Linked DNA regions of Homo sapiens: all the other regions are linked to region 4. Evidence: promoter capture Hi-C in 16 types of primary human blood cells and fetal thymus (Javierre and others, 2016). All regions are on one chromosome and are shown on one strand. The core of a region is centred on a gene start or on the middle of the fragment in contact, and the rest is flanking DNA. Distances in the headings are between cores, read along the strand shown. Region 1 has its middle 25 kb from the start of LINC02156. Region 2 overlaps LINC02416 (long intergenic non-protein coding RNA 2416). Region 3 overlaps HDAC7 (histone deacetylase 7). Region 4 holds the start of SLC38A1 (solute carrier family 38 member 1).

The links. The method cuts DNA at HindIII sites, captures the fragments that hold promoters and counts their contacts. A CHiCAGO score of 5 or more calls a contact.
Region 1: a fragment that was not itself captured here is called in contact with the fragment with the promoter of SLC38A1 in region 4 in 2 of 17 cell types (activated CD4 T cells and total CD8 T cells); the score reaches 7.1 in activated CD4 T cells.
Region 2: a contact is called between a fragment that was not itself captured here and the fragment with the promoter of SLC38A1 in region 4, in 1 of 17 cell types (non-activated CD4 T cells). The highest score is 6.6, in non-activated CD4 T cells.
Region 3: a fragment that was not itself captured here is called in contact with the fragment with the promoter of SLC38A1 in region 4 in 1 of 17 cell types (non-activated CD4 T cells); the score reaches 6.8 in non-activated CD4 T cells.

Annotation. Positions count from the first base shown.
Region 1 is chr12:47,386,890-47,393,666 of GRCh38, forward strand. No RefSeq gene overlaps it. Among named protein-coding and RNA genes, the nearest start is that of LINC02156, 25 kb to the right of the region's middle. The HindIII fragment of the contact is 1,063 bases long and covers 3,239-4,301 here.
Region 2 is chr12:47,365,770-47,372,584 of GRCh38, forward strand. LINC02416 (long intergenic non-protein coding RNA 2416) reads left to right here. Exons shown (of 4, transcript NR_183615.1): 2 at 1,523-1,655; 3 at 3,889-4,041; 4 at 4,121-6,071. Among named protein-coding and RNA genes, the nearest start is that of MIR4494, 4.9 kb to the left of the region's middle. The HindIII fragment of the contact is 1,710 bases long and covers 1,041-2,750 here.
Region 3 is chr12:47,802,311-47,809,297 of GRCh38, forward strand. All of the region lies in intron 1 of HDAC7 (histone deacetylase 7), which reads right to left. LOC124902926 (a long non-coding RNA gene) reads left to right here. Exons shown (of 2, transcript XR_007063290.1): 1 at 1-349; 2 at 2,965-3,323. Among named protein-coding and RNA genes, the nearest start is that of HDAC7, 14 kb to the right of the region's middle. RefSeq lists an enhancer at 6,622-6,691. The HindIII fragment of the contact is 4,820 bases long and covers 3,230-6,987 here.
Region 4 is chr12:46,263,313-46,270,292 of GRCh38, forward strand. SLC38A1 (solute carrier family 38 member 1) reads right to left here and starts at 5,731. Exons shown (of 17, transcript NM_030674.4): 1 at 5,214-5,731. LOC105378248 (a long non-coding RNA gene) reads left to right here and starts at 5,759. Exons shown (of 2, transcript XR_001749101.1): 1 at 5,759-5,846. RefSeq lists enhancers at 3,222-4,205, 5,131-5,190, 5,189-6,171, 5,311-5,360, 5,411-5,510 and silencers at 5,921-6,100, 6,181-6,280. The HindIII fragment of the contact is 4,151 bases long and covers 3,378-6,980 here.

The DNA of each region.
Region 1 (6,777 bases), core at 2,520-5,019, 1.1 Mb after region 4:
TTCATCCTTTTATCTTAAGCCTTTACTATTTTAATCTAATTTGACTTAATACAATTTAATTTAAAGTTTTAATTGCTAGAAGCTTAAAATTAAGACTGATAAACCATTTAAGAAATTTGCAAAATGATACTAAGGATTGAAAAATAGGAAAATGACATTTGAATCATTAAATGAAACAAGTTGAATATTATTTAGTAAAAATTTAAAGTTAAATAAATTGGTCATTAAGAAACTGAAATGCAGGCTGGGCACAGTGGCTCACGCCGGTAATCCCAGCATTTTGGGAGGCCAAAGTGGGCAGATCTCCTGAGGTCAGGAGTTTGAGACCAGCCTGACCAACATGGAGAAACCCTGTCTCTACTAAAAATACAAAATTAGCCAGGTGTGGTGGCACATGCCTGTAATCCCAGCTACTCAGTTAGGATGAAGCAGGAGAATCGCTTGAACTGGGGTGCAGAGGTTGCGGTGAGCCAAGATTGTGCCACTGCATTCTAGCCTGGGCAACAACAGTGAAACTCTGTCTCAAAAAAAAAAAAAAAAAGAAGAAAAGAAACGAAAAGAAAAGAAACTGAAATGCAGTTAATTGATCTCAAATCATTCTGTATGTTTTGAAGATGCCATTTTGCTCTTAATCTATAGTCAGCTCTTTCTCTTGCTCTTCTGCTAGTGATTAAAGGGTATGTTGTTTTTAGAAATAATTCTGTAAAATTCAATTAAATCCTTATATTCTATTAAAAAAATTCAGAGTGTGTTTTGTGGTAGTCTTCCCAAATACAAAAATGTCTAAGTCCTAATCCCTGGAACCTATGAATGTTGCCTTATATGTCAAATGGGTCTTTATATATATGATTAAAGTAAAGACCTCGAGATGGGGAGGTTATCTTGGATTATCCAGATGGACCCAATGTCATCACCAGGTCCTTTTAAGAGGGACCCAGAAGGGTCAGAGTCAAAGAAGATGTAACCATGGAAGTAGAGATTGGAGTGGTGCTCTTTGAAGATGAAGAAGGAGACCACAAGCTAAGGAATACAGGCTGCCACCAGCAATTGGAAGAGTCAAAGTAATGGATTATGCCCTCAGGCCTCTAGAAGGAACCACCAGTCTTGATCACCCCTTGACTTTAGCCCAGTGAAGCAGACAGAGGACTTCTGACTTCTAGAACTGTAAGAGAATAAATTTGTGTAGTTTTAAGCCACAAAGTTTGTGGTAATTTGTTACAGCAGCAACAGAAAATGAATACAGGGTGTTATTGACACATCCTCTCATCTGGTTCTTCATCCTTTCCATGCACAGGGTTTTACAGCCAGGCCTGTGGTCTACCAAGAATGTTGTTCTTCTCAGAGAAGACTAGAAAAGCTCTGCCCAGACATCGGAGACCATTTCCATCAATCTCTTTCCTGGCTGCCATATGTCCACCTGGAACCAATGAGAGAGACAACTGTACAGAGACTTTTTGTTTTTCATTTTAGTGTTGTTCTAAGAAGTTACCAAAATACATCATGAAATTATCGCAATTAAGTTTACCCAAAAGCTACAATGTACACTATTTTCAGCCCATCTATTCCCATCTCCAGCCATGCCTGGCTACATTTTCCTGTAAAGCTCAACAGCTAGAATGTGCATCAGATAATAGTGCTAAATGGTTCAAATAGAATATGGCCAGGGTTACAAAAAGCATCCACTTTGCCTGCATACACCCCTGCAAAATTCAGCTCCACAGATTTTTCCTCTTTTGTTACCACTCCAGCAATCCCATGAGACAGGCAGAAGTTGTCTAGCCCCAGAGGACCCATGAGATTACATGACATCTCCAAGATCTTAGCAAGAGTAAAATCTAAGTCAAGGACTCACATTCCTGATTAGTTGAGGACTCCAGCTTTGCACCTGTGGCTTGGAGCAGGCATGCACACACAGGCGGAATAGGTAATTTTAGCAGTGCTGCTACCAGAAGAAATTCAACATCCCCTGCTGGATCTAGCCTGCAGTGCCCTGGTTAGAACTTGATCCTCACAGCTAAGGCTTGAGTCCTTGTAATGCAAATACCCAGGGCATCCATGCTCCCTCCGATCCCAGCACCTACACCTTGTAGTCAGGAAGCCAGTTATTTCAGGACTCGGACGAATGCTGCACCTGATCCTCCTCAGGCTTCTGAGAAAGTCCTCGGTTCCCAGTAATGACTGCCGTCCTCTCAGCCAGGCGATACCTGGTTCTCATCCAAGAATTGGCCACTGCACTGGAGATAAATTGTTTGGGGATGACTTAAAGTTTGAGGATTGGGAGGAGACGTTGTGTTTGAATCCTGCCTAGAAGGAACTTTCCAGAGACAAGATGCTGGAGAATCACAAGACCTGAGTCTCACTGGCATTTCCAACTGCCCCAATGTGATTTCTAAATTGCGAGAACTCTGGGTCTTGCTTTCCTGAAGACCTAGGAAGAGTTTCTCATACTGACCCAACCAAGCTGTGATGTTATTAGCATTTTCTACCCACTGTGTCAGATAACTACACCAAGACCAGCAAGGAGCCATTGGCTTCAGAATGTGAGCCTATGCAGCAGCAGAAGGGTGTAAGACCTTCAGAGAGTCCCTTGAGGATAGAGGGTACTTGGAAAGACAGCAGAAGGGGAAGAGAAGGAAAGACCCCTTCCTTGGGCATTGCTTCCACCTGAGTAGAAATCAGGCAAGGAAAATCCTCACCAGAGGGAGAGTATATAAAACAAAAAGTTGGAGAAAAATCTCAGCATTCTGAAAGGAGCACTCTATAAGAATTTTAAATGTAGATCCTCAACTAAAAGCATCAAAATTTGGGAAGGTGAATAAATCGTATGTGTGTAATGAGTGTGGAAAGTCATTCCAGAAAAAAAAAAAAACACACCATAAAATGCATATGAAAATACATACCTACTTGAGTTATGAGGGTGGGAAAGCTTTATTTATTTATTTATTTTTTGGAGAGGGGGATGGAGTCTCACTCTGTTGCCCAGTCTGGAGCACAGTGGCACCATCTCTGCTCACTGCAACCTCCGCTTCCTGGGTTCAAGCGATTCTCGTGCCTCAGCCTCCTCAAGCAGCTAGGACTACAGGCATGTGCCACCATGCCCAACTAATTTTTATATTTTTAGTAGTGACAGAGTTTCGCCACGTTGGCCAGGCTGGTCTTGAACTTTTGACCTCAAGTGATCTGCCCGCCTCAGCCTCTCCAAATGCTGGGATTACACTGTGCCCGACCAGGGTGGGAAAGCTTTTATAAGAGCTCAGTTCTCACCTTTAAAAAATATAAACTGGGGGTGACCATTTAAATGTAATCACTATGGAAAACCCTTTGGGCAGAACCCTGACCTTATTGAACATTAGAGAATTCTTACCACGGAGAAACCATATAAATATGTGAATGGGAAAAACAGTTAACTACGAGTCACACCTTATTTAACATGAGGAACTTGATGGTGGAGAGAGCTTATTCTTGTAAAGAGGGTGCAGTCCTACCAACCTTAGATAGGTCACAGGCAAATCCACATGTGCTCTGGGACATAAAATTATGCATTACTATATATTGTAGCAGACACCACAAAATCAAACCTCTAGAAATACAGTCATTGTGGGAAATCCTTTTTTTGGGAGTTCAAATTTTACTACATATCAGATTATATTAAGGTGACGGTCATTGTGAGAAAATTTCTTTTTAAGGATACTTGCATATGGCTTACACGGGAGATAGACAGATGATAGATGACAGATAGATAGATAGATAGATAGATAGATAGATAGATAGATAGATAGATATAGATATAGATTTTTTATTTTTTGAGACAGGGTCTGACTCTGTCACCCAGGTTGGAGTGCAGTGGTGTGATCTCTGCTCACTGCAGCTTCCTCCTCCTGGGCTGAAGCAATCCTCCTGCCTCAGCCTCCCAAGTAGCTAGGACTACAGGCGTAAGCCACCTTGCCCGGCTAACTTTTTTTTTTGTAGAACAGGGTTTCACCATGTTGGCCAGGCTGGTCTCAAACTCCTGAGCTCAAGTGATCCTCCTGCCTTGGTGTCCCAAAGTGCTGGGATTACAGGCGTGAGCCACCACACAGCCAGGAGACAGATCTTATAATAAAATATGCAGATGTTAAAAGACACACTTAGGTACAATAAAACTTTAATGAGTTTATTTGAGCATTCAGTGATTCGTAATTCAGTCAGCACCAGACAGGAAGCAGTTTGACATTTCACCTAGGGGGCAAGAGGGGAAACTTTTATGAGGTGTAGTGGAAAGTCCTAGTTAGAGGTTAGTTGGTGGATTTTCTGATTCGTTAAGCTTAAGTTTCCTTTTAGTTTTACATTAAGTTTGGGCTAAGGTTTTCTTAAGTAAGAACCTGAGGTACTGAGGCTATCTCAGACTAATGGCCTCCCAGTTAATTTATTTAACATGGGAAAGAGAGAGCAAGAAGGAAAGAATAGGAAGGAAGGAAAGAAGGAAGGAAGGAAGTGGGGAAGGAAAGAAAGAAGGAAGGGATGGAGAGAAAACCTTTGGGTAAAATAAAGCTCAAAGGTTTTTTTTAGTCCGAAGATCCCACAAGCAAATTCTGACAAGGAAAAACATCAGAATTCATGGGCATGGGAGCGTTGCAGGAGGAAGAAGGATGAGAAGCAGGGATGCTGGGTCATCCCCTCTCACATTTAGGGGTCTCTGAAAGAGAGGCAACTGCAGACCAGGCCAGCACTGAGCCAATAACCAACTCCCTGCTGTGAGCCTTGCCAATGTGTTGCCCCTGTGGCCGCCACTCCCCACCTCACATACCCACACACTGGCAGTGGGTGCTTCCCAGCAAAAGCACAGGGGGCCCAGAAGTCAGCCATGACAACATCGCCTTGTTCTAACTAGACTCGAGGGCTGAAGCCAGTGACGTTCAAGGGATGTGGGTTTTCTGAGGTCTGGCGAGGAACCCTGGCAGTGTCTGTCTCTGTCACCGTGTTTGGAAGAAGGCTAATTGTTCATCCCAGGCCAGTGTCCAGCGAAGCTGGATCAGTTTCCTCTCCTTCCACTCCCATCTACATGCTAGGAGGGGCTGGGTGCATTGTGACCAGCCAGGGCACGGATTTGGCCCTCCCTGCAGAGCCTGCTTCTGTTCCTTCTCCCTTTCCATCTCCCAGAGTTCTCACCTACCTCCCACCCACCTCCTTGAGATCCGGTTCTCTAATAAAGCTAGTCGGATGAATAAGCCAAGGCTCACAGAGGGCTATTTTGGCAAGCATACACCTATGCTTAGGAGGATCCCCCAACAAATCACTAAAATAGTCAGACCTCAACTGGGCTAGAATGCCAGGAGGGTCCAATCAGAACTCCTAGCTCTGCTACACATAAGAAGAGTTAGATGAGTTTTCTCCAATACTCAGACGCCTCATCTGTTAAACAGGCATAGCAATGCCTTCCTCCCAGGGTTTTATGAGAACCAGGAAAGATAGTGTCATCGTGCTTTAGTTCAGTGTGTGGCACAAAAGGAGGGCACTTCAAAGCAGTAGTGGAGGCTGGGTGCGGTGGCTCAAGCCTGTAATCCCAGCACTTTGGGAGGAAGAGGTGGTCGGATCACCTGAGGTCAGGAGTTCGAAACCAGACCGGCCAATATGGCAAAACCCCATCTCTACTAAAAATACAAAAATGTATCAAGTGTGGTGGCACGTGCCTGTAATCCCAGTTACTCGGGAGGCTGAGACAGGAGAATTGCTTGAACCAGGAGGCGGAGGTTGCAGTGAGCCAAGATCACACCACTGCACTCCAGCCTGGGCAACAGAGCAAGACCCCATCTCAAAAAAAAAGAGCAGTAGTGAGCCGAACAAAGACATACAAATGTGTAGTTTAAAACTATATTTATAATAATAGAATCAGCAACACCAATGAAGTATACAGCATTACTAATATTGTCCTCAAGTAGAAATTTTAGTCACTGAGGTAGAGGAAGTAGAAAACTTATTTTAGAGCCTGTGGCACTTGGTCCCCAGCTGTGAGTAAAACCTATCCTATTTCAAACTATCATATGTCTTTGGGTCTCTAAATAGTCCCCAAAGTGAAGAACATGCAGTGTAGTGTTTCCTAAAAGAAAGGTACTACATTGTCCATATCGTTTTTTTCAAAAATCAATTTGCCTAGGCCCTCGTTGACTTGTCAATTTGTTATTTTGCCAGCAGAATATATAATTTCTTTTTATAACCTGACCTTATTTTGCAGTACTGTCCTAAGGAAATGTGAAAATACTCATCGTACAAAAGAAAGAGAAATAGCCATCCAGGGCAAGATAAGAAAGAGCAGAGGGACTCAAGTCAGGGCAAAGCAATGAGACTGAAAGAGGAGGGAGGAGAGGGTAAGGAAATGAACAAGCAAATACTCTGGAAGCCAGCCAAGTCCCAGATGCGAACTCCTGGTGAGTCTGTCAATCCACAGATTGTGCCGTTTCATTTGCATTTCTATTTCTTCTTAAGGCAATGATGTATATTTCATTTCATCTTTTATTTTGTTTATGATTTAATTATGAGAAGATAAGGAATCTAGGCACGAAGGAAGTTATTCTTTCCCCCCAAGTGCTACATCTGTTAGAGGTTGGATATAAGTGAATTAATTGCCAAAAATATCTGAGGGGGAAGCCACGTTTGCTCTTCAGTTTCATTACCAGGGATTGCCAGAGCTTCATTCCAACATCCCATCCTTGTTATTGAAAAACAAGTACTTACCAGTAAAGGGTGCCAACACTTAAACAATGAAGAGATGGTTTAATCAGACAGGATTCTTCTTCTACT
Region 2 (6,815 bases), core at 646-3,145, 1.1 Mb after region 4:
AGTTTCAAAGCACTTGTAATATGCTTCACTGCTGACTCCACCCCTTACTATGTGTCCTCAGTAAAGTGGCTCTGCCAGAGGCGTTTGAACCAGAGGACTCCATCTTGAATAGGGACTGGGTAAAATAAGGCTGAGACCTGCTGGGCTGCATTACCAAGAGGTTAAGGCATTCTAAGCCACAGGAAGAGATAGGAGGTCGGCACAAGATACACAAGGTCGTAAAGACCTTGCTGATAAAACAGGTTGCAGTAAAGAAGCCAGACAAAACCCACCCAAACCAAGATGACAATGAGAGTGACCTGTGGTCATCCTCACTGCTACACTGCCACCAGCGCCATGACAGTTTACAAATGCCATGGCAAAGTCAGGAAGTTACCCTATAGCATCTAAAAAGGGAGCAACCCTCTGTTCCTAGAACTGCCTACTTCTTTCCTGGAAAACTCATGAATAATCCACCCTTTGTTTAGCATATAATCAAGAAATAACCATAAAAACAGGCAACCAGCATCCCTCAGGGTTGCTCTGCCTATGGAGTAGCCATTCTTTTACTCCTTTACTTTCCTAATAAACTTGCTTTCACTTTGCTCTGTGGACACGCCTGGAATTCTTCCTTGCATGAGATCCAACAACTCTCTCTTGGGTTCTGGACCGAGATGCCTTTCCAGTAACATCTTCACATTCCCCTTCAATAAAATGTGCATAGTAATAAAGCCTACTTGGGGTTGTAGCAGGGATTAACTGAGAAAACACAGGTGATATGCTTAACTCAGTGCCTGTTACATGGTAAGTCCTCAGTAAACGTTAGACACTGTTCTTATTTTTGTTGTTGTAACAAGGCTGTTCATGATATGGTCTCTACTGAGCTGTCCACATTGTTTCCATGCTACCTCCTGGTCACCTTCCACTTCCCCTGCAGCTGCCCACCCTCTGTGCCTCTGTTTCTCCCTTCCCTAGAGCGTTCCTTCCCACTTCCCACCCCTTCTTCACCCACTGCTTCTACTTACCCTTAAGACTTGCTTGAAGTATCACTTCTTCCAGGAAGCTTTCCTTGACTTCATGTGAGTTAGGTGCTCCTTCTGTGAGCTGCAATAGGAGCCTGTGCTTCCCTCTCCTATTGTATTTATCAAACGGCAACACTGTAATTTTCTACCCTCTTAGTCTGCCACCACCCACCAGTCTGTGAGTTCTTGAAATGACAAAAACTGTGATTTCTTTATCTGGGTTCCTCCAGTATTTAGCCCATAACCTGACAATTAATATTTGCTAAATGATTTAAGCGGTGAGTGAAAGAAGATTAGGCAACTCCCATGGCTACTTGTCCTGGGACCTCTGCTGACTACTCCCAGGAGGTTATTCCTTTCTGAAAGTGGGATGTAAGTCAGGCAAACAGAATTATTCATTAAATTATTATTGCTATTTGCTTATATTATTGTTCTAGGTGCTGAGACCACCATAGTGTCAAAAAACAAAATTACAACAAATTTAGTATAAAGATCTAATTGGCTTTTATTAATAATTCTAGAATCAGGCAACATCTCATCCTATAAAATAAAATGGGTTTTCCGATGAGCTGAGAAGACGAGCCTGGCTTTATAGGCAGAAAAGGGCTGAAGAAAACAGAAACAGAGAACAAAAAGCAGATGCTTTGTTTCAAGGTTAGTACCCTGATAGTGTTAAAGCAGAAGGGACTTCCTGGTCATACCATCTTAAGGTAAGCTGCTCCCCTTTTGATTAGTTGCTGTGAATCTCATTCGCTCTCTATTTTTTTTTTTATTAGAAAGCTGGCCTATTTCAGAGTTCAGTTTGATTATGTGGCATTTAACATGAATGACTCCATTCTGGTCTGCTGGGCCTAGTTCAGGAGCCCAGTCCAAAACAATAGTCTCCCATAAATTTCATTTAACAATAGTAAACAAGATAAAGTATTCTGCCTCCCCGGTGGTTACAGTCTAGAAATGGATGGGAAGATAATCAAAATAGCATTAAGTTCTAGAACAAAAGTAGAACAAAATTAAGAGTAGGGAGTGATGAGGGCAAGGAGCTAATTTAGACTGGGTGGTCAGGAAAGGCCTCTGAGGACGTGACCTTTAGGCTGAGAACTTAATAATGAGAAAGATAAAATCTTGTAAAAATCAGGAGCAGAGAAACTTGAAAGACACTGGGTGGGCATGAGCCTGCGTTTTCGCAGGCAGAGGGTCAGTGTGCCCAGGGCCCAATTTCACCAAATGAGGTCAGAAGGGGTCATGACCAGCTCCGGTAAGTCCTCTTAGGCCATGATAAGCTGTCTTGATTTAGTTCTGCCCACAACAGGAAGCCACAAAAGGGTTTTTACAAAAGGGAGTGAGATGATCTGACTTAATATTTGTGGATTACTCTGGTCTCTGTGCAGAATAGAAATTGTACCAGGTTCTCACAGTATTTCCGTGAGATGATTGCAGCTTAGAGCTAGAGATAAAGAAAAGAGGATGAATTGAGGCTGTCTTGGGGAAGATGACAGCACTCACTGATGGAGTATATGAAGGGAGTAGCACGGGACAAGAGGAATCAAGAGTGATTCCTGTGTGAGACTGGAGCCACAGTGTAGTAGATGGTGGTGTCATTTCCTAAGTTGATAAAGAGACTAGAGGAGAAGTGAGCTTGAGGGACAGAGGTGGAAGGAACCCAAAGTTCTGTTTAGGGCATATGAGGTGGAGATGCTATTAGACTTTTAAGCAGAGTATAGAGGCAACCCGCTGCCTCTACAAGCCTGAAGCTTAGTGGACAGATCAGGAGTGGAACTGTAAACCTGCCAATCATCAGCAAGGAATGACTTTAAACAGGGAGTTGAACAGATAAGCTGGGCCACGTAAATATTGAAAGAGGATGGGGAGAGGAAAAGAAAGAGAAGTGGAGGGGAGGGAAGGGGAAAAGAATAAGGTCCCAAATCAATCTTGGCCGTCCTCAAAGAGAGGAGATGGAGGAACAGCAAGTGATTGGGGAAGGAAATCCACCTAGGAGAGGGTGTGCTATAGAAGCTGGAGGAGAAAGTGAGAGGTTGAAGAAAGTGCTAAAGGATAGGGTCAGAAAAGCAACAAGTGACCAGATTTGGCAAAATAAGTCATTAATCACATTGATTAGAACCGTTTTGGGGAGTGATGGGTTCAACAGCTCAATGACAGTGAATTGAGAGAACGAGAACTGAGAAAGTGGAGACAGTGCCTCTAAACAGCACTTTAAAGACATGTTGTATGGAAAAAAACAAGATTGTAACAGGAGGGAGAAGGTCAGGGAAGAGTTTTTTTTGGCTTTGGTTGACTTGGTTTTTAAGATGCAAGATTCCGGCACCTTTGTATGCCTTTGGAGTTAGAGAGAGAGGGGCTGGATGCAGAGCCAGCCTGAAAAGGTCCTGAGAAGGTGAGGGGGGCTGGGGTCCAGGAGCTAGCAGATGGTAAGGTTGGCCTGAGAGAGCAGCCAACTCCCCCACTGAGGCCTAGGAAAGAGCACGTGGGCAGAGACAGCTGCAGGGTACAGTTGATGAAGGGAAGGTCTAGTCTGCAGCTTGAAGCTTCTTTGTGAAGTTTGAGAGGAAGACATCAGCTAGACTATGAGGGAGGGGGAGCAGGTGTTGGAGCTTTGAAGGGAGAGCAGCTATAAAATGCTTCCTTGTAGGATGGGCCAGGGAATAACCCCGGGAAGTGCAGGCGGGGCTCCAGGCCCTGGGAGAACCCATCAATATTTGTGACCCTGAATTAAAGGAAGACTAGTTAAGTAGGTGGATGATACCGTGTTGACCAAGATGGCTTGGGAATGTACAATCCTGGCATCTGAGGAAACAGACCTGGCAAGAGGCAGTAATGTGAAGTAGCCATCTCTCTGAGCATGCTTTCCTCACCACTTCTTCCTTCACAGGATCCGGTTTTGTTCAGGTGTTCACACGAATCATGAGATTCACAGGAATGGGAAGCCGAACTCATTCCCAGCTCCAGAAGTGGATGCTGATATTTTAAACCAATCACCAGATGCCATTCCTTTGATGATGATGATTAATTTGTCCAGGGGCAGGTATGAGACCCAACTTGAACTGGTCAGACAGAAGGGAAGGACATAATTCCAAATGGACACCTGTTCTCTCTCCTACCAGTGAGGAAAAGGAAACGAGATGTCCAGCTGTTGGCCCCAGTCATAAGAGGAAGCTGATGCTGCGGATGAAGAGTGGAGCAATGGAAATAATCTGGGGTCCAGTAACATTGCTAAACTACTGATTCAACTAGCCTTTCTTTTTTTCTTTTCTTTTTCTTTCTTTTCTTTTTTCTTTCTTTTTTTTTTTTTTTAAGAGACAGGGTCTTGCTCTGTCACCTAGGCTGGAGTGCAGTGGTGAGATTATATCTCACTGCAGCCTCCCACTTCTGGGCTCAAATGATCTTTCCTCCTCAGCTTCCCAAGTAGCTAGGACTATAGGTTCATGCCACCACACTGGGCTAATTTTTAAATTTTTTTTGTAGAGACAGGGTCTTGCTATGTTGCCAAGGCTGGTCTAGAACTCTTGGCCTCAAGTGATGCACCTTCCTCTTCCTCCCAAAGCACTGGGATTACAAAGGCATGAGGCACCATGCCTGACTAACCATGAAGACTGCTTTATCTCTGAATAAATCCCCTTTTTTTAAAACCCAGCTTTTGTGAGGGTTTCTGTTACTTGCAGCAAAAGGGTCCTGATGGACACAGTTGTTTTTGCAATGTATGAGAAATCCTCAAAACTGGCTTTTCCCATGCTTGCCTTCCTCTCCGTTACACGCACTGCCTAAAGCAAAGTGACTGCTTCCTCGGGAGTCAGGTTTTAAGGTCCCTGGGGTAGTTCTGCTTCCACAGTTTAGGTTTACCAAGAGGCAGATATGTTTGTCCACGAGCTGGTTTTGCCAGTTGCACTTGTTTTTGTAATTATGTAAAGCAATGAAATATGAGTGAGGGAAAGAATTGCTGTTGTCCAAAATCCAAACTGAATGCTTTCCATAAACAGTAAAGACAAGTTGCTTAGAAAACAAAGCAAATACAAAACAATCTTAGAGTTTCATGCAGGTGAGGCAAGTGTAAAATAATTGGAAAATTTTGTTAAATCTAGAATAATTCTGAACTCAGATTGTTCCCCAACTGTCCTTCAGTTCTGGCTCTACTTTAAAGCTATTGGGACTGAAAACCACTGACTTTTTAAATGACTACACATGACTCCTATTAGATGTCACATGTCTTAAAAGAGGCCTTATCCCTTCAAAATACTGTCAAATGAAAGAATATTTATATGTTTTACTTTAGTAAAATATTAAAAATGTTTTCCATTTTTAATGTTTCTTTGCTCTAACTGACTAACTGCTTTAACTGATTACCCAACTAGCTACCAGTCTGGTGGCTTCTGAGTAAATGTACCCCTGTTCCTCTTTAGCCCCTTCTCCTACCTGGTCAACCTACTGCCCTCAGTCTCTTTCCTTTCTCCATCTTGTCAGCATAGAACAGTACAGCATCAATAACAACTGATTTTTGCAAAATTATAATTACAATAGCAAGAGTATTTTTCTTTTTTTTTTTGTTTTGAGATGGAGTATCGCTCTGTCGCCCAGGCTGTTGTGCGGTGGCATGATCTCGGCTCACTGCAAGCTCCATCTCCTGGGTTCACTCCATTCTCCTGCCTCAGCCTCCCGAGTAGCTGGGACTACAGGCGACCGCCACCACGCCCGGCTAATTTTTTTGTATTTTTAGTGGAGACAGGGTTTCACCGTGTTAGCCAGGATGGGCTCGATCTCCTGACCTTGTGATCCGCCTGCCTCGGCCTCCCAAAGTGCTGGGATTACAGGCATGAGCCACTGTGCCTGGCCGAGTATTTTTCATTTTAATAAAAGTTCTGGGAGGATCTACACTAAAGTGTTAACTGCTATTTCTGCATGAAGAGACTGTGGATTTTTTTCTTATTTTCATGTATGAGGATAATAATGATGTGTACTAGTATTGACTTGGTTATAACAAACTAAAAATAATCTTTTAACCCAAGAACAAAGAATATTTTGTCTTTTTATGAGAATTTACTTTTTACAGAGAACTTTTAGATCCATTGAATCAATGGTACTTCACAACTACACTGCAAAGAAAACATTTATTCCTGCTTCCCGATGAGGAAACCAAAATGGGAGAAGGGGAAACCATGTGGCCTCAGATGACAAAGCAAGTAAGAAATAGAGCCTGTTTAGATGCCCAGGTCCCTGATGTCTGCTTCAAGTAGTTTTTCGTTTCCCTCAGCATCACTAAAGATTTAATGAAAGCAGATTGATCATAGCTAAATATGCTTCCTCTGACAGAATGAAGAGCATTTGGCAATGTAAAAAAATAGAGTTTTAAGTGATGAAAGCGCAAGTCCAGAAGGAGACTGGGAGAGGAGGAAGGCCTTCACAGCACTGTTGGGTACTTCCATACAAGGCCAGTGTCACGTAGGATACGGTGGCTTCCTTTCTTGATCAACCACCCCCCAAGACTTCAAATCAGCTCTGTTAGTCTGTACTGGAAAATGTGGGCCCACTGTTTAACCTCTTTGGGCTTCATCATTGTGTTCTATTAAATAGGAGTGATGATAGTCACAAGATTGTTGTCAGAATTTGAAATGTTGATGTATATAAAGCCCTTAACACAGCAGCTGATGGGTTCTAGCATTGTCATCATAATAAAAACTAGTAATACTGTTAGTAGTAATCACACCACTGCTGCTTTAACGGGAAGTAGCAGACTTGCTGAGGGCTACCAGGCTGATGGGCACTAATGCTGGAAGATCATGAATCAGAACAATACACTCTAAGGAT
Region 3 (6,987 bases), core at 4,390-6,889, 1.5 Mb after region 4:
AGGGGTGAGGAGAGGGAGCAGGAAGGAAAGAAGGTCAAGCCAGGCCTGCTCCCTGCCACTCCAAGCTTGAGCACGCCAAAGCCTGGGACCTCCACCAGAAGCTAATCAAAACGAGAAGACCCCACCCCATTCGACTCCTCCAGTCCCCCTGCTGGTGAAAAGGGCTCCCAGCTCCCTCTTCCTCAAGTCACTCATTCTAAATGACTTGAACTCAGACTACAGCAAGAACCTAAGGAGGCCTCAGCTCACCCAGCAGTGCCCTCAGCCCTCCCTCCTGTGGTCAGATACAATCTTCCCTGGGCAGCCAAACCAGGCTCCCATCGCCCGAGGGAAAGAAGAAGGCCAAGAGGTGAGGTGGGGCCAGAGGTGGGAGAGCCTGGCTGGGGGGATGGCTGGGGGGACAGGAGGAGAAAGGGAGGAGCAGGCCTGGAGAGAGGGACCCTGGCCTGCTCAGAGCCTCCCAGGTGGGAGTGAAAGGAGCAGGAGGGGACACAGAGGTTTCCAGAGTGGGGGAGGGACTGGGTCATGGCCCGGAGGTCAAGTCAGATCTGGTGGGAACTGTGAAGTGATAAGGTCAGGAGTGCACAGCCCAAGGACCCCATAGTGCAGACCCTTTTCCTCCCACTGCCCCATCCTATGTCCTGCTGCCTGTTTCCTCAGAGAAGGGACCTACTCAGCCTCTTTCCCAGATAATCTGAGATAGAAATCTTTTCTTTTGGAAATGGCTACCTCTCTCAGGCTCCTAAGCCCAGCAAGAAAACCTATAGTAGGGCCCAAGCTGGTCAGCAGCAGAAAGCCCCCAGGGGACATGGAGGCCAGCTGGGGTTGGAGAAGACAGAGATGAGTCCTGAGGCCACCTGTCCAGGACAGACACCTTTCCCTCTTGCTGTCCAGTTCAGGGTCAAGGGGACAGGAGGCCAGGAGACCCAGAGGCTGCCTGGACGGGGTACTGGGTGGACACAGAAGCGCTCTGCTGGCCAGACTTGGGGCAGAAGGGATATTTTTTGAGAAACTGCCGGGGTGCTCCTTTGGGTCTGTGTCTCAGAGGCAGCCACAGTTCCTCTTCAGAGCCGAGAAATGAGAACTTCCTGCAGGCAGGCGCTGCTGGGGGAGGGGGCAGCCTGGGCACAGGGAGACTCCCACCGACTGCCCCTCAAACCAGCCCATGCTTTGGGTAACAAAGTTCGGTCCGAAAATGCTGCTCTACCTATTTAAATTCTGCCCATCCTCTGAGGTCCAGCCCAAGTCCATCTCCTTGGGAGGCTCTCCCTGACCTCTCCCCTCTTCCTTTTCCACAGCACTCGCTCTGTGTCTACCACCTTGACACTTCATTCATCATGATCTCTGTGGTGCCCTGTGGAAGCCATGCCCATCTGCACCAAACACCTCGCAGGGCACGTGGCAGGCTCTGTTAGTAGCTGACAAATCAAATACAATGACTCTCTCCTGACAACCTGCCTGAGACACAGCATGCATATTTCTCAAGGTGGTGGGCCTCAGAGGCAAACTCCCCTCCCCACGACATGGTAACCCCCAATCCCAGGCCTTCTTAGTACCTCTTCTTTCTTCTGCAGGACCTGGTCCTCCCAGAGGTTTCTGGACTGGGCTCCAGGGTGCACTCCCAGAGACTGTGTCAGGCTGAGTCCCCTGCCTCCTGGGAATTCTGTCCCACCTCCCCAGTCCCTACCCAGGGGCTGGTCAGCAGCATTCATGCTTGGGAGCAGAGCCAGGTTCTCTGTGCCTTGCTCCCCTGGTAACCACAGATTCCGGACACCATGCACTCTCTGGATAGGAGAAAAATTAATGACCCTGAATTCTGTGGTGTGGGCTACCAGGCCCCAAAGGGATGTTTTGTGGTGATAATCCATAATATAAGGTCTGTCCAGAAAAGCTGTGTGCATGTGTGCATGCGTGTTGGCAACGGGGCTGCTTCCAATAGCAATTCCTGGAAAAAGTTCTGCTTTTCCCCCGCTCCCTGGCCCCGTGCTGAGGGCCATCAAGTTCAGAAGAGCGCAGAGCGACAGAGATTAAGACCCAGGAACAGCTCTCTTTGTGTCCTAGAGAGAGGAAAGGTATCTACTGGCACCCCGTCAGTAGCTGAACTGAAGCCAGAGCATGAACATCCTGCCTCCCAGTTCTGGCTTGAGTGTGGGACCTCTTTTCCCATCACTGCCTCTCTCCGAGGGCTGTTACTACTAATTTGGGGTCAGCCTGAAAAAAAAAAAAAAAAGAGAAGTAAATGGACCCAAGGTACCAGGAATACTGTCTAGCACAGGGCTCTTTGCCAGGTTGGAGAGCTCTTCTTTTTGGAATCCTGGCTACTCCCCTTTTCTATCTTCTTTGGAGGCAACTGCAGTCAGACTTAAGAACAGTTTACTTGGCACTGGGGCATGTGGGCCTACCAAGTCACCTTCTTAAACCAGAACACCTGATTTTACCCAGAAACCTATGGAGCCCCTGTTCCAATAGGTGCACCCCAGCCCTCAGCAACCTCCAGAGTAAACACAAACACAATTCTAAGCACCTGGAACAAACTGACCTCCCTACTGCTCCTACCTTATTGCCTCAGGCCCCAGTCTTGGTCCTCCCTCCCCAGCAGGTATGACTTTGCCTCCTAGATCTGCAAAAGGTGGATGAAAACCTGAGCCTTGCCGACCACCTGCTCTCCCAGGAGCTTCATGTCTTCAGTGGGACAAAAGGCTTCCCCAGGAGCACTGCCACCTAGAACGCCCCCCTCCCGATGCCTCCAGTGTCTTTTCTTAATTTTTTTTTTTTTTTGAGGTACGGTCTTGTTCTGATGCCCAGGCTGGAGTGCAGTGATGTGAACATGGCTCACTGCAGCGTTGACCTCCTGGGCTCAGGCAATTCTCCTGCCTCAGCCTCCAGAGTAGCTGGGACTACAGTATGCACCACGATGCCTGGCTAAATTTTTTTTGTTTTGTTTTGTTGTTTTTTTTTTTGTAGAGACGAAGTCTTCCCCTGTTGCCCAGGCTGGGCTCCTGGGCTCAAGCGATCCTCCCCGCTCATCTTCAAAGTCTTTGTTGAGGCTGTTCCCACCTCCCTGGACTCTTGATTAGCGGAAAAGGAAGCAGCAGCAAGAAGACCTAGGCCCCAGCAGCAAGAGGAAAGCAGGCAGTGGCAGAAGGCCATAGTCCTGGGTTCAGAGCTGACTCCCTTCACACCCGAGGTTGCTGTCTCTGGTTCTCCTTCCCTGACATAGGCTGGAAAAAGCTTGAGTCTCCATGGGGCTGGCAGAGAAGATGAAGGCTGGTGGTGAAATGGCTTCAGGAAGATCCAAGAACAAATAAACAGGAGAAAGAACACTGTGGTTGCCAGGCCTCCCTGACACAGAGTGGGGGCTGAGCACAGAGGATCTGCTCCTCTTCCAGGCTTTAGAGATCGTTCAGACCAACACTCTCATTTGACAGAGGAGCAAAGAGAAAGAAGGGGCTAGGTCACAGCCACCCAGCCAGCCAGTGGTCCAGCCAGGCCAGGCCAGACCAGTACAGGGGAAACCCAAAGGTCAACCCCAAATGCAGGTACTACTTCCCTGGGAAGTCACTGATCTAGGGGTTGAAAAGATGGAAATATGAGTGAAACCTGGTTCTCACTTTCAAGGAGTTTAGAATACAGCCTGCAGCCTTAAACATATTTGAACAAGTACAATACTTGCAGATACTAAAAAAAATTCAGAGAGCCCAAAAGTTGTTAGGATAAGTTTCTCATTCATCCCAGACTCCCTAGAACTTCCCTGGAAGCCGCCCTTTCTAACAGCTTCTTGTGTCTCCCTTCCAGAAATTCTCTATACTGCTCATTGATTGGCACTGAATGCTTCTTGCTCAGATTTATCCAGAACCCAGCAGGGAGCTGAGAGTGGGCTGGAAGCCCCTGCCACATGAAGTCTGGCAGGCCACAAACTGTGAGGGAATTGAAGGTCTAAAGCACACAGGACATTGGCTTTGCGGTCAGATGGGCCTGGGTTTAAGCCCCGACTCCCTCGGTGACTGGCAAAGCAAGCCAGAAACACAATTTAACCTGCTTAAGCTGCCCCACCTGTAATCAGGAGATAAGAATACCTACTTCAGGCTGGGCGAGGTGGCTCACGCCTATAATCCCAGAACTTTGGGGAAGTTCTGCCCTGGCCAAGGCGGGCAGATTACTTGAGGTCAGGAGTTCGAGACCAGCTTGGCCGACATGGTGAAATCCCATCTCTAACAAAAATACAAAAATTAGTCAGGCATGGTGGCGGGGAGCATGTAGTCCAGCTACTTGGGAGGCTGAGGCACAAGAATCGCTTGAACCCAGGAGGCGGAGGCTGCAGTGAGCTGAGATTGCACCACTGCACTCCAGCCTGGGCGACAGAGCAAGACTCCGTCTCAAAAACAAAAACAAAAACAAACAAAAAGAATACCTACTTCAAAGAGGTCACCTGAGATTAGCAATGCTGTCTGTGATGCACCCAGCACATGGTGGGTGCTCCCTTGTGGTAGCGAGTATTAGTTTGCCTCCTGTACTTGTCTGCAGCCTCCTTCCTGGCATTAGCGTTTCAGTGTCTGCTCCCAACTCTCCTCCCTCCTCTACCACAGACCATTTTCTCCTGAATGCATGCCCCTGCCCCATCTCTCTCTCTCTCTCTTTTTTTTTTTTGAGATGGAGTCTCGCTCTGTCACCCAGGCTGGAGTGCAGTGGCACAATCTCAGCTAACTGCAAACTCTGCCTCCTGGATTCAAGTGATTCTCCTCCCTCAGCCTCCCAAGTAGCTGGGACTACAGGCATAAGCCACCAAGCCCAGCTAATTTTTGTATTTTTAGTAGAGACGGTGTTTTGCCATGTTGGCCAGGCTGGTCTCGAACCCCTGTCCTCAGGTGATTTGCCTGCCTCGGCTTCCCAAAGTGTTAGGATTACAGGCGTGAGCCACCGTGCCCAGCCCCCTGCCCTATCTCTTATCCCCAGCCTCTCCCAACTATGCTCTCTTCCCTTTCTCTTCCACCTGAACTTTTGTAAGCGAACACCTTATTATGTGCCAGGAGTTGTTCTAAGTACCCTACATTTGCTAACTTATCTAGTCCACATGACAAACCTATGAGGTATTTACTGTTTTATCCCCATTAGATAAATGAGTACGCTGAGGCCCAGCAGTATTAGATAACTTGTCTGAGGTCACAGACAAGTGGCAGAGGTTGAGCTGGGACTTGAGCCCAGGCAATTGGGCTTCAGAATCCACGCTCTCAACCAATACACTCCACCCCTCCTCCCCAGCATTCCCATTCGCCACAGGCCAGCCAGCAAAGGACACATGCAGGACCTAGATGGGCATGCAGAAAGATGGAAAAAAAAAATCACACAGCCCCACAGAGACCCGTGCCAGCAGCAATCCCCAGCCCTGCGCAGGTGAGAGGGCAGAAGCTATGTCATCTTTGGGTGCCCATGAAGACAATCTCAAAGAATCATTTGGAGCAACTGTTGACTTTGTAGAAACCAAGCAATGATTTGGGACTGTGTGCTGGAAACAGGGGGCTGGCAATGGGTTGGGGTCTTAGAGGACCCTCAGCTCCAACTCCCCTGCTCTCAGTGCCCTGCCATATCCCTTCTCTAGAAGCTCCCAAGTCCCTCTAGGACTCTCTCATTAGCGTCCCAAAGCAAGCTGCACCATTTCTCTGTATAGGCAGAGGAGCCAGCTGCCCATCAGGGCAGAGGCTCAGCTGCCAGGTGAGCCAGCCGGGATGTCTGCCTACCCAGACGAAGGCCTCCATCAGTCCGAGGCAAGAGGACAGAGAAGCTCCTGCACACCAAACAGGAGGCTGGATGTAAGGGTGGCAACAGTGAGCATGCCTCTTTCTCCGCCACCTCAGGGCAGCTGGGGCCCTGAGGCAGCTATTTTTAGCTCTTGACACCTGGGTATTTTGCAGCCGCAGGATGTCCGGTTTGGAGTCTCTTTCTGGGAATCCCACATGCGGCTGTTGTAAACAGCCCCACGCAGCAGTGGCCTGAGCTGGGAGCCAGTGTCGCCCCCCCACCCCACCTCCACTTCTGCTGTTTGAGATGAATCAAACAGGAAGCAGATGTAACCATGGCAGCAGCGGCTTGAGCTCCCTGGGGGTGGGAAAGCATCCTCCCTGGTTCTTTGTCCCCCACCCCAGATCCCCAGCTCCACCCTGTGGCCTCTCCTCAAGGATGAAGACCTGGCAGAACCTGAGGCCGGGGAGCTGGGCCATTCTGAGTTGCGTATGGCTGTCGGTTTCTGGGTCTGGCACTCTCTGGAGACCCTTGCTGTCCTCTGACAGAGAAAAACAGGGGTCCTCCCAGCCCTGTCCAACTCCCGGGACCTCTCGGGCCACCACTCAGCCTTCCCTGCAAGTCCATTGTGAAGGGGAGGGCATAGCTACTTCCTGCGGTGGCAGGCCTGGAGGGCCTGCATCTACTTCCTATTACCCATGGCCTTCAGCTTATAGCCTGGCCTGCCCCTGCACTGCTCTGCCCACTTAGGGAATTCCTGAGCCAGTGGGCTCCCCTAGTCCACACTACCCTAAGATTTCTCAGTTCCAAAAAGCCCTCAAAGACATAAGTTCCACATTCATCCTCACTCCTCTGCTCCAGTATCTCCAGTCCCTGAGATAGGAAGTTCACCATGATGTCTAACTACCATCTTTCCTATCATAAGCAAAACATCCTGAGCAGGCAAGATTTGAGGCCCTATCTGTAACATGGGGATAAGTCGGCCAGTTTCTGCCTTCATCTCTCCCCTTCGCCTTTACCCCTCTGGTGCCCCACTTAGACCAGTTGCTCCTTTAGCAGCCAGTGTGAGCCAGTCTTTCTCAAGGGCCAGTGTTTGCCCCAACAGGAAGCACAGTCACCGCCCCAGGCTGCCTCTAGGGGCGGCTCCTTCTCCCCTCTGAGGTGTCACACTCATTCCCTTGCTCTCCTTGTCACCCCAGCTCCTGGGCCCTCCTCATGCAGACCCTGCCCCTCTGTGTACCCTACTCCTGC
Region 4 (6,980 bases), core at 4,481-6,980:
CATAAGGAACTAGAGAACACATGTCCCATCTATTTCCCTCCAACTAGTGGCAGGAATGAGCCTGGTCTTTTTATTTTTATGTTTTTCAATAAATGCCAGAAATCAAAATTCTAAGTGAAATTCTGATATTTAAGAGTTGGCAACTAATTTCAAATAATTTTAAAAGAAAGCGTAAGTCACATAAAATATGCCCACAAGCTTAATTTGGCTCTCTAGCCACCAGTTTGCAACCTAAACAAAACCGGTTCAATAAATTAAACACAGTGTTTTCTCTGTGCTCTGACCTGTCTGTCTCCTGCTCAGAGCCTCTTTCTCCTATACCTTGGTCCATAGCCTATCCCTTTCTTTTTCCTTTCCATTGTCGCTTTCTTTTCCAACCTTCGCCATTCCTAAGAGATGGAAACTGAGATCTACACATTAAATCTTCATGTGGCTCTGGCTGTATCACTGGACAGGCGTCTATGCCTGGGAAAATTCAGGTTATAAACTGTAACCTGAGGCTGTGGCTCCATGATGTCAACAAATGGTTGGTTTAGTAAAATCAGGGGGAAAAGTCAGTCAAGCTCATAATTTCACACTACTAAGACTAAGACTTTGTCAAGCAACATATGGAGGTCCTCATTTAATTTCTGATGTTTGTTTTGTTTTCCTTGCTTTAAATCTAAACCAATGCATATCAAAATCACCCCTGATATTTTCTAAGCTCCCATATTTGGGCTCCATCCCAGGCCAACTAAATCTGAATCTCTGGAGTTGAAGTCTTGGCACTGACAGCTTTTAAAACACCCTAGATGAGTCTAATGTGAAGTCTGCTCTGAGACTCACTAATCTAAAACCATCACCTGACCCTGAAGATTAGCAGCATGCTTAATGCCAGATGACTATCATCTTGAATAGTTTTTTTAAACTTGTTCAAGGACTTTCTCAGCTCTGCTCTCATTGTATCTTCACAACTCTGAGGTACGCAGCACTGATACTATTATTAGCATTGGACAGATGAGAAAATGAGGCATAAAAATGTGAAATGAGTTGCTCAAGGGTACCCAGCTAGTTATTGCCAAAGACACATTGTAACCTCACTTGAAACAGAGTTACTTACTAATAGTAGAGGAATTCAGTGATTGGGAAGGTAACATGGTTAGGGGAACTCCTCTGTTATTAGTAAGGTTATCACTAGAAAACAAATATGTGATCAATTTTCAGAAATAAGTACAACAATATTTTTAAATTTAAAATCTTATTTTAAATCTAGGGTCAGTGTCTTTTTTTAGGTTATTGAAGTTAATCTTTTAATTTTACTTAAAATTTTTTTATTTCAATAGATTTTGGGGTATCAGTGATTTTTGGTGGTTATATAAATGAATTGAAAGTGATGAAATCTGAGACTTTAGTGCACTTGTCATCTGAGTAGTACACATTGTACCCAATCTGTAGCTTTTTATCTGGCATCCTCCCTTCCAACCTCTGGCTTCTGAGTCTCCACAGTCCATTATATTACTCTGTGTGCCTTTGCATACAAGATGTCTTTTTCGAAGTCTGTCACACATTCTTCAAAGTACTTCTGTGCACATACTTCTCCTACCTCCTCACCACCTTTCATAGATGTATATTCTCCCAGAGACTAAAAAGATCCAGGTAGTTTCCATCAAGATATATTTTCAGAAAAGTATTTTTAAAAGATTACATAGTCACAGAATTTCAGAGGTAAAGGGAACTTTACTGATCAACTTTCTCTCCCTCCTCTGGTAGATATGTTTAATTCAATACATATGGAATGCTAACACTATACCAAATACTTCACATTCATTATCTTCATTAAATCTTTACCATCACTCAGTAAAGTGGGTACCACCAACACTACCACCAGCATCATCATTCCCATTTAGCAAAAGAAAAAACTGAGGCTTAGAGATGCCAAACACCTTGCCCAAGATTCCTGGGTGAGTAAGCTGAGGCCTGATATTTATATTTGACTCAGAGCCTAAGCCCCTATTCACCACCTTCCATCACCTGGAGTAACAACAGTCCAAAATGTGAAGGATAAACAAATACTTATGAAAATGCCAGTGAGGTGATCAGTGAACACTTCTCCCAAGAGGTGGAAAAGTGGCATCAGGGATAGGCCATCACAAGTACACAGGATTTCAGTAGGCATTCTGGACTGGAATCCAATCCACACAGATATTGAAGCAGAAAAGTGATAGGGAGGGAATAGGGTGAACTGTGAGAAAGAAAATATCAAGAGAAAAAATTGGAAAGAGATGAGAAGGCAGATTGTGAAGGGTCCTAAGTGTATGGCTAAGGAATTTAGACTGTATTTGTGTGCAATGGAAACCCTCAGAGGTTTTTAAAAGCAAGGTCCTTTAACAAAATGTGAACTGAATTTTAGAAATATAAACCTCATGAAAGAATGGAGATTTAATTAGGGGAGCATAACTTGATATGGAGGAGAGACCAACAGGAAAGCTGTTCCACCTCAGTAACTGGCTGTTTCACTCTTAACCATATGTTGTGCTTGCATTTTTCTCCACCGCCCACTCCCACTGCCCCTAGGTTGTTCAAGGCACCTCTATATCTGTTTCATATGTCTCCAAGTCTAGGTAAGGTGACAGGGACCTGAACTTGGGCAGTGGAAATGGAGACAAGAGGACAAGTGTGAGGGGTATTTTCAAGGGCCTGGTCACTGCTCAAAGTGGGAAGGGCAGTACGAGAAGGAGAAGCAGAGAAGAAAAAGACTCTCATTTTCAAACTTAGGAGAAGGGGAACAGATGAGATATAGAACGGAAGGGATGGCCAATAATATCACAAAGAGATGAACAAGATGGCCTGATCAAGGTCTCAAGGTCTCGATCCAACAAGTATTTATTAAGCAGGTACTATGTGCTGGACATTAGAGGAACAATGAGTAAAATCGGTTTTTGTCCACAAGCATCACCCAGAGTAAAGAAAAGAGTAGCAATAGTCAGATATCAGAAACATGGTGCTCCTTTCATTAAATGGCCTTAATTCATGAAGCATCATAAAAAATATACATAAACAACATACATATAGGTTTAAAGCTCCAAAACACCTTTAAAATCTATTCATCTATCTGTTCAATTATATTACAGTCAAAGAAGAGTGCAATAAGTACTTGCTGTTCCTTCTTCCTGTTCCTTCCGCTGGCCTTCTTCCCTCAATTATGGAAATAGCTGATCCCTTTTCATCATTCGGGTCTGAGGACAAATGTTATACCCTCACACCGCCCCTCCCGGTGAGTCACTCTATTTCAAGCATCCTCCCCCATCACATGATCCTGTTTTATTTCTTCATTGCACTAAGAATACCTGAAATGTATATGCCTACATTTATATAGTCTATTTCCCCCTGAGAACGGAAGCTTCATAGAAGGTGAAACAAATCTTGTTAGTTGCTGCCAGTCGCACAGTAAGCCCTCTGTAGAAAATGTTTATTGGCCACATTTTTTTAAAAAGCGAATAAACCTCAAGATTAAGACCTCAAACCAAACTATTCCAGTTTCCAATTGCTTACAGCGACATACTGAGAAATCGAGTGACTCTCAAGAGAAAGGCCATTTTGAGGCTGGGGTCGAACCAAAATCCAGGGGGTCCACACCAGGTCAGTACCCCGGAATTGGCTGTTTTGCAAGATTTCGGGAGTACCAAATTGGCATGAGACATTTGACAACGAGGCCAGCCATGCACCGAGCTCAGGTTTTATTTCCGTTGTCCTTCTGACGTCAGAAAAAGCACGAGTTGCTGCACAGTTTCTTTTATCAAGGTGACAAATTACACCCTCGCTGGGCCCTGCATTCTGCAAACCATAAATTTATTTTCCTCCTCCCCCTTATATTGAAAAATGTAAAAACCCACTGCAGAGAGGTCAAAACCCCTTCCAAACGCAAATAAATACCGTTTTCTAGCAGAGGCGTCTTTTTTCACTTTTGCTACACACATCACCGCGGATTCGTCCGAGAAAGTACGTGATCCTGGCGGCAGTTAGGTTTCTAACAGAGAACGAGGGTTTGTACAAACCCCGGGTCCGCGCCGCAGAGCAAGACAAAGGACTCTGAATTGTAGCACCACCTTCCCCAGCCCAAGGCAGCCTGTGAAAGGCACTGGGAGCGGCGTGACGCGGGTACCGCGAAATTCCTTTTGCTGCCATATGCACTTGTGCCTTCTCTAACTACAGTTCAGCACAAACCTCAGGCGGGCGATTTGGCAGGCAAACGGTGCCCAGGCAGCCGGGTAACCTACTGGGTCCCAGTGGGTGCTGGGGAGCCCCATGCGCCAGGAGGTGGATAATTTAGGGGGCAAGGGGCTCGCACAAGGGCGAAGATGCGCTCTCCTCCCGGCACCGACCCACGCGTTTAAAGGCCTCTGCGGCAACGTTTAGGGACGCGAACTAGGTGCCGGGGGTTGGGGAGGAGGTGGGACTGGAAGCGAGAGCAGTCTGCGCCCAAGACCGCGCAAGAGGTGGCCTTTTGTTCGCTGGCTCCAGCACATCCCGGCTCTCGAAAAAACACTACCTCTGTCCCCTGCCACCCTCTGCATTTTAGAAAATCCTCTTCAGGGCAGGAAAGGACAGTGAGTCACTGCAAGCATCCTTTAGTAATTTCTCCCCGCGCCCTCCTACTTCCCCGCGTTACAGAGGGGCAGAGCACCAGGAAGGACGGCAAACATGCCCCGGTTTAGTGGTGGTCCGCGGCCGCTACCCAGCCGGCCGCACGCAGCACCCCCCGGACATCACACGATCTCCTCTGGGCCTTGCGGACACAGGAAATTTTCACCAAAGGCCGGGGATTCAAACACTCCCAGAACACGGTCGCGCCCTCGGGTCAGCTGCGCTCTCCCTCCAGACGTGCGTGGTTCCTGGCTCTCGTAAAAATGGAACCAGATCTGGTACCACACTCTGCCACAGCCACAGGAAAACACACCAAAGTCACAGGAAAACAAACCAAAAAGTAAGCCACAGCCCACGCAAAGGTGAACTCGGGGGCCCTGGCGCTTCCTCCCGCTGCCGCGTGCGTTCGGGAAGCACAGGAGACCTGGACTTTTCCTCTCCTAAAAGCAACATCCGAAAGCATCGGGCACAGCCGAGCTCTCTCTGCTTTCACGCCCGCAGAGATGATTTCTACGTTACCTCCTCCTCCGACATCTAAATCTCCCCTTGCCGCTCGCCCAGCCCTCCCCGGGAACGGATAATCACCTTACCTCCGGAAATAAAGGGAAAGGTGGCAAAAGGCGATGTGGAGGTGTCCGCCCTTCCGGGGTTTTTACCCTCGGCAGTTTGATGTCCTTTGTGTCAAGGTCTGGCTGCGGAGGCCGGGAAAATGTGGCCCCCGTCAGTAAGGGTTGGGCAGGGAGCTTGGCGTGGCCTGGCGGATTTCGGAGGAAGGTGAAGGGCGGAGGCTCCTGGCGACCTTCTGGCGGAGTGGCGTGGCCGCCCCAGTCCGCGCTCGCCTGGCTCTCCTCCTTTCCGGGCCGATTGCATCAGAATCTCCCCTCACCACCAACCCCCACTCACACTCTGCTCGCCGGCCTCGCACTTACATCGACATGCACCGGCGCTGAGGGTCACGAATCGGAGTCATTCTCCTACTGGGGGACGCGTGGCCCTTCCGCAACCATGGCTTGTGATGGTTTAACGCGGACAGGCCATTCCTCCCCGTCCCGCGCGCGGTCTCCTCCCCTCCTGTGCGCCCGCTCTTTAACCAAAGCTGCGTGTCAGTGAGCCGTGCCGGTCACATGGTGTCACTGCTGGCGGCCGCACCTTGCTGCCTCCCTCTTGCAGCTCTCTGACGATGCAGCGACCGCGGCTGGCGGAGATTGAGCAACGGGGAAAGGGTGAGGGAGGGGTTGCGGGGCGCGCGTGTGCCCGGCGCACTGAAGCTGGCACCGGGAGCAGAGGCTGCGCGCCGCCCTGGCACCTGCCCCTCTCCCTCCCGGGGCCCGGCGGCGTGTTCGGAACCCAGCTGCGGCTGCAGCTGGAGAATGAGAGCCCTTAGGGATGGGGGTGGGGCGGCTAAAGGGGCACCGGCGGAGGACAGGAGGGCTGTGCGTTCCGCTGGGGCCTGCATTTTGGGTACGCCAGAGCCCCGCCGGGGCCGAAGGAGCGAGGGAGTTGCATTGTGGGAAGGGCGCAGCATGAGGATGGCCGCGGGAGTGGCAGGTCCGAGCGCAGCCCGGAGAGCCGCGGGCAGCGCCTGGGACTACGGGCAGCGTTGGAGCGGAGGGCTGGCCCTGGGCACAGCCTGCAGATGGCCCGGGTTGGCGGGAAGGGGACCGAAGTGGCAGGGGCGGCGGGGAGCTCGGGCACCTTTAAAAACCCTTTGTCCCTAACCTGAAGCGGGAGGCACCTCCCCTCTTCCGGATCCAGCACCCGCAGACCTGGTCAGCCCTTCCTGAGATCTGCCCTGTGGAGCTCTGCTTTGGGGACTGGGTGTGAGGTGAACCAGAAGGATTTGCTGAGCACCGAGAAAGCACCGGCCTAGGCGCAAAGAGCCGGGGGCCAGCTCTTGGAGGGCCTGGAGACCCCACGTGGTCCCGACCGAAGGACCTGGTGCGTCCAGGTTAACGGAGCTGGGGCGCTCCAAGTCCGGGGGACGAGGGAGCGGCATGGAGGGGAGCAGGGGCAACTGGGCCTGGTTCCCTTTTTTCCCGCTTACTCTTTGTTTCAGACACAGCCCCCTTTCACTGGCTGGGCACTTGCTTGCAGAGGAGTTGTGTCTTAAAATGGCGACAGGAAATCCCACCTGCGCCTCAGCCAATTAGACTGTCATAGCGCGAATTTGCAGGGTGGAAACGCGAGCTTTTTATTGATAGGGAAGGTTCAGTCTCCTGTTCATGGTTCATCAAAACAGGAAAGGGAAGGTGAATCATAATTCAAAAATTAACTACCTGGAGCGTTTCAAGTAGACAGTAGTCATTGTATTTGGGTGAATTTTGCTTTTTCATCACCACTGGAAAAGCAAGATGATA